2 separate regions of the Homo sapiens genome follow, and region 1 is linked to region 2. The links are contacts of gene promoters, found by promoter capture Hi-C in blood cells and fetal thymus (Javierre and others, 2016). All regions are on one chromosome and are shown on one strand. Each heading gives the region's core, a stretch centred on a gene start or on the middle of the fragment in contact. The rest is flanking DNA. Distances are from core to core; before and after follow the strand shown.

Region 1 (5,054 bases), core at 2,488-4,987, 42 kb before region 2:
TATCAAGCTTAAAATCCTGTGTCTTTATGATCATGTTACTATTTATTTTTGTTAGGAATCCCCAAGACTACCCTACTACAGTGCCTAGTCAATGTTGAACAAGACGCAGGCTCTCCAAAAACTAATGAGTCAGTGTAAAATAAAATCTGCTTCAAGATGCACATCTGTTCTGGGAATGTTCTCTAGTGCCAGGACAGAGATGGGGAGGACTGCAGAATTCAATTAGATATACTTAGAATGCAAGCTTTAATTCTCTGCTGTGAACCTACACAGAATCCAAGCTATTCTCCATGTTACTTTCCAGGTATAGCTCTAGATAGAAGCAAATTCTGAAAACATTAACTAAATAAATGTTTTACTATTTCAAAATCTAATATTTATTCGGTAAATCCAATTTGATATTTACTCAAATATCCAAATATGGATATTCTCAAAGGTTTTTAGTTAACAGAATATTTAATATGGCATAGTTTTTAATAATAGAAAACAAACAATACATCCAATGGGAAATTTATTAAATTAATACTATATTCATACAGAAGAAAACAATTCAATGATTTAAAATGTAGAAATGTATGCATTGATTCGATGAATATTTAAGCTTTTATGTTTGCAACACACTGCTTTAAATCACAGAACAATTTAGATATCTTATCTTATGTAAAAACATTTATCTATATATGGAGTAATACTAAAAACACATATATCAAAATCTTAATCCCAGTCCTTATCTCTGTGAGATTAAGGATGACTTCTTGTCTTTTTGTTAATATTTTAAAAATTTTTCATAATGAACATACATTACTTCTGCAATGTTAGTAAGTCATTAAAGTTATCTACTATCAAATATGGTAAAAACCCATTAGAGTTCTGTATTACATGGATGTGCATATCCATGAATCAACTCATGTCTCTTAAGATTTAACACTTACTTAGAATTATATGACATAGCTTTTTAAATACTAGTTATATTCCTCAAAAACTAGCATTAATAACTTGTCATTTACTATATGGCGCCAACATTTCAACAAGCAGTGTAAGACAGTGGACTTAAGAACAGGGTTCTGGTTCTCATCAAGTGACTCACTCAGAGCATCTTGAACAAGGTAATTTAATTTCATAGAGCAACTCCATGAAAGGATTTTGATGATAATCTCTAGGACTGCTGACTGTAAGGTATCAAGTTTACCTGCCTATAATAACTAAATGGCCCAAATCATTTTATTTTCAATTGACAATTACAGTTTTGATACTTATGTGTATCACTGGTAATTGCAAGCTTAAGAACAGCAGGAAAAAACCTCCACTTAACTCCATGGCTATCTAGAAAAATAATACTTTTAATTTAGGACATGCTCTTACCTTATCAAAAAGGTGATCTCTATATTGTTGTTGAGTAACAAATTTTTTATAACATACTACACAAGCAAAGGAGCTGAAGAAAGGTCCATGTAGTGTAATTGTTGGATCACATGGAGAGTGATCGAACCTACTCAGCAAAAGAGGTAAGAGGTAATATTAGATAAATCTACATTCTAGGGAAACAACTATGTCGCTTCATTTGTGAAGCTAAACACATACACACACATTCAGAACTTTGCACTTTTCTACTGAAATATTAAGTAATGTTCTTCATATACAGTAAATATCAAGTGGTTCCCATATGCTCAGCAATTCCCTCAGATAGTGACCAACAGTTAGTGCAAGATTTCATATGTACTAAATATCCGGTAAAATAGATTTAGACATTTCTTACCAAACTGGTAAACTTCTCGTTTGAAAATTGTAAGTCCAGCATCTTTTACTTCTTGCCTTGGTTACCATAAGACTCACAACTAACTTTAAATACATCACTGCAATAATAATCTCATGCTAAGATTTCTAGTACACTTGTTTCCCATAATGGCTTTTAATGTTCATTTTTACCATTTAATAAATCTGCATTATTTTAAACTGCCTGGAGCACTTTAGCTAAGGTATAGTATGCTATCAAATTTTGTTCCCTCCCCGACCCCAGGTCCAGCTTTGACTTTACCTGGTTTTTTATAGAATGCTACAACTCCCTCTAGAAGCTTCTCTTGATAAGGTAAGGCATAAGTAGGGTGAGACATATGGAAAAGACAATGGCTTAGAGCCCCAAACTCTCAATTTCCCATTCTTCAGCTATTAGAAAGGGAGGCTATGGGGAGTCGAATGTTTAATACAACCTTCCCTTGATACCTTTCTCAAGCTCCACTATTCAAAAATTCAGTAAACTGGCCGAGCGCGGTGGCTCACGCCTGTAATCCCAGCACTTTGGTAGGCTGAGGTGGGCAGAATGCTTGAGCTCAGGAGTTCAAGACCAGCTTGGGCAACATGGCAGAGCCACGTCTCTGCAAAAAATACAAAAATTAGCTGGGTGTGGTGGCGCACAACCTGTAGTCCCAGACACTCAGGAGGCTGAGATGGGAGGATGGGAGGATCCCTTGAGCCCAGGAGGTGGAAGCTGCACTGCACTCCATCCTGGGCGACAGAGTGAGATCCTGTCTCAAAAAAACAAACAAACAAACAAACAAACAAAAACCACCAAACTCAGTAAATTGATAAAATGGGTTTCAATAAATAGAATTTTTATTATTAATTTTGCTTACATCAGTTTGCTTTTAACATTTATTTTGTAATGCCTATTACCTTTCTTCAGGCTAGACCAAATGTCTGTACACGCTCCTTGTCTCTTGAAATTTACATTTATGGGCTGGATTTCTCTAAAACTAACCTATCTGGATTTTGATGGAGAAAGTCTGTTTAGAACTTTATAAGCTGTATCAGGGAAAAATAAATATTTAAAAGCTATACCCATAAAGCTGAAAGCTACACCCACTAGAAAAATCTGACTTCATCAATTATGAAAAAATTATATCATAATGGCACAAAATAATTTGAGTTTGGAATATAAAGCTATATAATCATAATGGCAAAGGAGCATTACGCTTTCATTTTATGAAATCACTTGGTAGCTCACTAGATCTTCAGCATTCACTATTATGAATATCCTACTTACCTTTTCAAATGTCCTAAGAGAAGGTGCCCATTGTCAAACTCCTTGTTACAGTGCATTATAGGACATAAAATTGGTTTCCCAGACACCCACGTGTGGCCTCCTCTTCGGAATGAACTTTTTGTTCCACAATTAATTGTGCCTGTTTTGAGTCCTGCATCATCAGAATATGAATTCTTAGGTTATTATTTCAGATACTTATCCTTTGGGCTAGTGATCAAAATTAGGACAAAACAATGAAAATTATGACATAGCATCAACTGGATGATGCTAATTATAATTGTTTAAAACCTCTCTTATAAAAGATATAATAACCTAAAAGTAAATAAGTTATGACCAAAAAAAAGCCCTTAATATCACCAAGTAGCATTCTCTTTTTTTTTTGAGATGGGCATCTTGCTGTATTTCCCAGGCTCAATCAATTCTCCTGCTGTCGCTCAAACTACAGGAGCACGCCACCATGCCCAGCTCCAAGTAGCTTTTTTCCCTTTAGGGAAAAAAAATCCTTTTCTTTAAGCTCAACAGCTAAAAAATGTTAAAGACCAAATGCATTAGAAGGTTACGCCCCTACTCCCTTCATTTTGAGCAGGTGGGCCTATAGGCACATGCCACCATGCCCAGCTAATATTTTTATTTTTTGTAGAGACAGGGTCTCTCAATGTTGCCCAGGCTGGTCTCAAACTCCTGGCCTGAAGTGATCCTCCCACCTTGGCCTCCCAAAGTGCTGGGATTACAGGCATGAGACACTGTGCCCAGCCAGATCTTTTCCTCTAATTCTTATTTTCTCTTTTAACTATTTCAACTGTGTTATAAATTTAGCTATATTATAGAGGGTCTGAGCTCTATGAAAATTATATTACACAATGTAACTGGGGTAGAGAGGATGGAATGAAGAAAGCAGGGAAGCAAGGAGGATAAGTGTGTTATTTTCTGAGGAATCAAGCCACTGATCAATCAGTTCCAGTCTAGACACATCAAGTAATACAAGTGTAAGGGATAACACATTTATAGAACACAAAGCAGAGATTTACTTATTGTTGATACCTCTCCCCTTTCTACTTATCCTATTTTGTCCCTTCTCTTTTTCCCTTTAAAAAGCCAATTAGGAAACAGTTTGTCCACAATTTTTTTCTCTTAATTAATCCTCCTTTATCCTGGTCCATTCTTCATCCCTTTCTTTCTTTATAATTTTGATCTTAAGGTCACACAACTTGTAGATGAATCCCCCAGCCAAATGTCCTCGGGGCAACTCCCAACGCATGATATATGAAGAAAAATTTAAACAGTTAAGTTGTATAAAAAACAATTGCAAAACAACCACAAGTATTCTGATTCACAGACAGTTTGATTACTCTCTGTTTTATTACTATCTCTTGTGGACTAATTTCACTCAAATGCTTTGAATATTTCATACAACAAAAAGCTAAATATTTATCTTTATTGAATTTTCTACAAAGCCCCTAAGCATTTAAATAGAATTATTCCCTTAAGACAATATGATTTTTAAATCCCAAAATGGTTATATATGATTAAGGTTTTAATTGCTTTTCCTCTCTTTTAGTCTTTATTGGGGGAATACCTCTATCAAACTGTCAAAATGTTTATAAATATGTTCTGACAACAAATAATGGACAGCATGGAATTAATCATATTTTAGTCTTAACAAGGCATTAAAATGGCAATATACTTTAACATTCTTAATGTAGTAAGAATTATGAAAACTGTTATAATTGTCCACCCACATTCCAGATGTTTCCTATTAGGACCTTTATTTAGCTATAAATAGTGGCTCTGGATAAAAATAAAGTTGGAGAAGCCAATTTCTGGGTGGAGGGGTGGGGAGGCTTCCCCATGGAAAGGCAAAATACAGAGATTTAAACAGCTTTTGTCTTAAATAATACAGACAGCATTTTTAAAAATTATAATACTAAGTATTCAAATTTATGCAAACTGGCCAACTCTAAAAACCCATAAAGAATGGATTGTCCAACATTAGAATAATTATAAATAAGGTACT
Region 2 (5,118 bases), core at 1,723-4,222:
AGTTTTTTAGAAGTAAATCACATAAAAAATCTGCAATTTCAAAGAAAGATATAAAAACAGTAGTTGAATAAAGGATCATATTACTAAACAGAAATAAGAACAACAGACCTAAATAAGAAGTTTTTGTTATGGCAGCATTCTGTTTCTTGATTTAGGCGCTGTTTACATAGATGTATGAGGCTTTGCAAAACTTTATCCAACAAGTATACTTATGAATTGTGCACTTTTATGTATATTTCAATAAAATTTAAATGAGAGGGCCCATTTTTGCACCCCCCTCCATATCTATATCACTCCTTTCCTTCAGCATGCTGTGTTTAGTTTCAGATTCTGTATTCTACAAATCACAGAATAACTCCTGGGCCACCAAGTGGACTAAAAGTGGGAAAATTAGGTTAGTAAGAGCTATGAAATCCAAACCGTAAAAACGAAGAAGTAACATCACAATACTCATTTTTTATCTGAAAAAATCAAACTTTTTCATCTTTACTGAATAAGCATTACTGACTGGAGGAGCCACATATAGGATTGGATTCCAGAGAAAAGTAAAGATTCTGTCTCTGAATATATTTTGAAATATAATTAAGCTATTATTGTCATGTAAGTGGTGCCACTTAAATGTAAAGGGAAAATTTTTAATAGGCTTCTTCTAGTATTGTAATTACACTTACAACATATAATTCACTTCTCCATGTGGAACTGTCAAACCTCTGAACCTTTATTTGGGAACAAGAGTAAGAAGTTGTATCATGTCAGATATTCAATGATTGTACATTCTTTACTCTTGATGCAAAGACGGAAGTGATCCTCTACATTCAACATAAAATTTAAAGACTCCTTTAAACCAAAGGTGAACTCAAGCCTACATTAACTAGTCACAAGCTACACTGTAATTCATTACACAAAACATTTTTCAAATATTAAGAGATGCTACTCGTGTTTCTCAAAAAGGGCCATAGTTCATAAAGAAGTATGTCATTCCTAGTATTATTTCTACTAAACACCATAAGAAAAAAATTCTCTTCACAAATATACCAAGATTCAGGAAGAACCTGAAATATCTGTCCTCAAGAGCCATGGAAACCTGTTATTAAACATACTTCAGCGCATGGTGAAGGAAAGGACAGGATACAATTCACCCCCATCCTCTACTCCAAATCCGTAGAAGATCAAAATGAAAAGGAGAGAGTACAACATACACTGGTAAAGGGAAAGAAATTCAATAAAACAATCTTGTGAAGGACTCCTAAACAAATCTATTAAAATACCATACAAAAATGAATTACCAAAATGGCCCTAATGCTGGGAAAGAAACTGTTTAATAACCAATTTTACAAGGTTTCCCAGCATCCACCATAAATGCACATCTGACACTCAACGAAAAATTCTACAGCTTGAATACCAAACTGCAACTAACTACGGCATTCCAAAAGACGAGTTGGGGACAGAACCGTTTTCTGCCTGGCGAGCTGAGATACCACTTTACGCAAAGCCTTTCTAAAACTCCAATAATTATGGAAGAAAATCACCCCAAAATACATCATAAAACACTCTCTTCTGCTTTGGAAACCCATGCTGTACAAAGTGTGCTCAGAAATCCTTATGTCCCTGCACTTGTCTGAAAATGAAGATTCCTAGGCCCCCGCCTGGAAATTCTGATTCGGTAGGTCTGCAGTGGGGCCCAGGAATCTGCCTGTTTATACTTACTAAGGCTTGAAAACTACTGTCTCAAAGGGAACAAACTCAGAAAAATAGAGCATGTTCCCAGTGATGTAGGATTCTTCATTATGAGCATCAACTGTACTATGCCGTAACATGATGATCTCAGAGGTTAGAGAAATCTTCAAGCTATTTGCCTTCATGTTAGAAGCACCATAACGCTAAGATTCTGGGCTCTCACAACCCTTCCTGTTTTCTACGTCCTTGCTCATCATTAGCAGCTCCTTCCTCCGTGTCGCCTTTAGAAGTTACTCTTGCTCCATTTCAAAACAGCGTTTTAGACACCAGCGTTTTTATCTTAAGTTTAAATGAAAGGCAGGGGGCGAGATTAAGTGTACAGCACGTTCTTTAGGACGTGCTCTTTGTGATGGCTACGGGGGTGGCTCAGATAGCTCTTTTGGTAAATTTCCCAATCCTGCGCCATGCTCCAGTGTCTAGTATGTATTAGACACTCATGAACATTAAATGACCAGGTGAGGTAACATTACATAATGGCCCACCATAGTCTTTTACTCTGGGAAAACCCCAATCATCATTGCTACTTACACTGACAAACTGAATGTCGTCTTCATTTTCATCCGTTGTTGACTCAGATGCCTCAGGGCCAGCTGGAGGGACAGATTCTATTATCTATAAAAACAAGCCAAAACATGCTTATCTGTTCAGCCACATTCGTGTAGGAAGAGAGCGTTTCCGAAAGGAACAATTAAAGACAGAGAGCTCTTGAGGAAAACGAACTGAGCACAATTTCACGGAAACCCGACTAGGAACGGAACTCGAGCTCTGGCTCTTGCCACAGAGTGTGCGGAGCTGCAGGGACCCAACGCTGAAAACGCGTTAGTTACCAGCCTCTCACAATTCCCCTTATCTACTCCAGGAGGAACGCAAGCTCAACACCGAAGGGCAATCCTGCCTTAAAACGTCGCTCCCACTGGCCCAGCCGCGGCCACAACGAACGCCAGGGCCCGTGCGGGGGGCCGGGCGGCCATTGTTGCTGCGGGTTCCTCGCTCAGACACGCACCAGGCCCCAGAGCTGGGCTCGGCCCAAGACACTGAAGAGGTATCGCCCCGAGGCTGCGACGGAGCACCAGGCCTCAGACCGCAGAAAACACAAACCCTTCGCGGTTCGCCTCTGAGAACGCCAGGACCCTCACTCGACTACTCACCTCCGACCCCGGGTCTCCCATGTCTCCGACGGCCGCGCTGACAGCACCACTGCTCCTGCTGTCCCTGCCGCCGCCGTCGCCACGAATCCCCTTCCCGCCCTGCACCGCCTGGCGCTACCGGGACCCGCCCCTGCGTGAGCGCCGACGCCACCGGCGGAAAGAGACGCAAAACCTCTTCAAAGGAGGAGCGGCCCTTACTGGCCCGCTATGCCCCCGGAGCCGCTTTCTCTCACTCCCGGGCTTCCTTCCCCGCGCCGCGCAGGATGCTGGGAATTGTAGTTCGGGTCCGCCCCGAGACCGCCCCTCGCCGGAGAGGAAAAGAACCATGCGCCTAAAAGACGCCAGCTGCAGTGGGTGGGGCGAAGCCAGGGGCCAGCTGGGTCCTGTGAGATAGCGAAGCACTGGGAAGATGTGGGAGGATGTGAAGGAGGGTTTGAGTTGGTATTTGTTTGGTTTTGGTATGGTTGTGAAGCGCAGCTCATTGATTTTTCTGTTTTAGCCCTGAAGGTGGGTGGTGGGAACGGATTTCTCTTTTTTTCCTTTCATTTTTAAATTTATGTATTTACTCATTTTTGAGGACAGGGGCTATGTGGAGGTTTAGCTGAATCCTAGGATCAGGAAAGAATCTGAAGTATCCTTACATTACACACCTCTTCCCTAGCGTCAGTCTCCCAGGCCCTGCCAGTATTAATACACCTGAGGAAGAAAATAGGGATGGGAAATCCAGGGCCCAATAGGAAAGGGAACCGAGGTCTACCTAACTATCACTAAACCCTAGCCAGTGATTTTGAAATGCACTTTTTCAATATTCTCAGATATACTGAGAGAATATGAGAGATCTATTTATAGACTGCTGTAAGGTTGACCTTTTAACCTTTTGTGTGTTCACACTCATAAACCAGTCTATAAAATAGATCTTTTATATTCAACTATGCATTTAATCTGTTCTCAGGTAATACCTTACCAAAAATTTAAAAAGGTTTTTTAAAAAAACACACCAATCGTTGTCAATAAAGTTTATGAAAAGAATTAAGTGATAACATTATTTTAGGCCAGGCGGGTCCTCACACTCTGGGAGGCCGAGGCGGGCGGTTCACTTAAACCCAGGAATTCGAGACCAGCCTGAGCAATAAGAGGGAACCTCGTCTCTACAAAAAATACAAAAATTAGCTAGGCGTAGTGGTCCTTGCCTGTAGTCCCAGCTACTCAGGAGGTTTAGGTAGGAGAATCGCTTGAGGCCGAGAGATTGAGATCCAGGCTGCAGGGAGCCAAATTCATGCCACTGCACTGCAGCCTGGGTGACAGAGCAAGACACTGTCTCAAAAAAAAAAAAAAAAAAACACAAATTATTTAACATCTCAGATTCCTGTTTTTGTTTGTATGCAAAACTACCATCTGATTGCCTAAGCCTGTAGTAATTATTGTTTAATATTTGACATTTCCTGCATTTCCACCAAGTGCTTTATGACTTTAGTTACTTTCTACCTAGTAAGTTTGAGACTTGTGGAAGCCAATTGAGAATGACAGACGTGCATGGGGAGTTCTTCAAAAGCTGTGTGTAAATTAAATATTTTTAAAACGTTAATGTGTAGGCAAAACTTGTATTTAAAAGCTCTTCCTAGTGGGCTGGTGAAAGTGTCCTCTAATATTTAATCAGTTGAGGCAGGAGTTAATGGGTAAAATTCTTGGAAAACAAGCAGTATGTGGCTAGACCCAAAAACTTCTCACACCATACAACTCAGTAACTGTAGTTGCAGGGATTTTCCTGAAGATACATCACAGGTTTTTTTATAACAGCAAAAACTGGAAAATATCTAAATGTCTAATAATTGGGGAATGTAATGTTTAAATTTTGGTATGTATGCTATAAAGATAACATTACAGTGTTTTATCTCCACTGAAAATGTTTACCTAACATTTCTCAAAGCATATTTTTCAAAAATTCAAGAAATATATAGGATAATTAGAACCATGTTGTATTCGTTCTTGCACTGCTATAAAGAACTACCTGAAACTGCGTAATTTATAAAAGAAAGAGGTTTAATTGGCTCACAGTTCCACAGGCTGTACAGGAAGCATGGCTGGGGAGGCCTTGGGAAACTTAAAATTGTGGCAGAAGGTGAAGAGGAAGGAGGAACCTCTTTACATGGGCAGAGGAGGAAGAAAGCAAAGCAGGGAGGTGCTACACACTTTTTAACAACTAGATCTCGTGAGAACTCACTCATTATTAGAG

What was found. Contacts are between HindIII fragments. The CHiCAGO score rates a contact against its expected background, and 5 or more counts as called.
Region 1: a contact is called between a fragment that was not itself captured here and the fragment with the promoter of ZNF451 in region 2, in 10 of 17 cell types (naive CD8 T cells, erythroblasts, total B cells and 7 more). The highest score is 8.4, in naive CD8 T cells.

Annotation. Positions count from the first base shown.
Region 1 is chr6:57,131,179-57,136,232 of GRCh38, reverse strand. ZNF451 (zinc finger protein 451) reads right to left here. Exons shown (of 15, transcript NM_001031623.3): 6 at 3,041-3,191; 7 at 1,363-1,489. The region is part of intron 2 of ZNF451-AS1 (ZNF451 regulatory antisense RNA 1); the gene reads left to right. Among named protein-coding and RNA genes, the nearest start is that of ZNF451-AS1, 39 kb to the left of the region's middle. The HindIII fragment of the contact is 3,325 bases long and covers 2,075-5,054 here.
Region 2 is chr6:57,088,042-57,093,159 of GRCh38, reverse strand. ZNF451 (zinc finger protein 451) reads right to left here and starts at 2,972. Exons shown (of 15, transcript NM_001031623.3): 1 at 2,886-2,972; 2 at 2,266-2,349. The coding sequence starts at 2,906. RefSeq lists a silencer at 2,914-2,983 and enhancers at 2,404-3,286, 3,154-3,303. The HindIII fragment of the contact is 8,135 bases long and covers 1-5,118 here.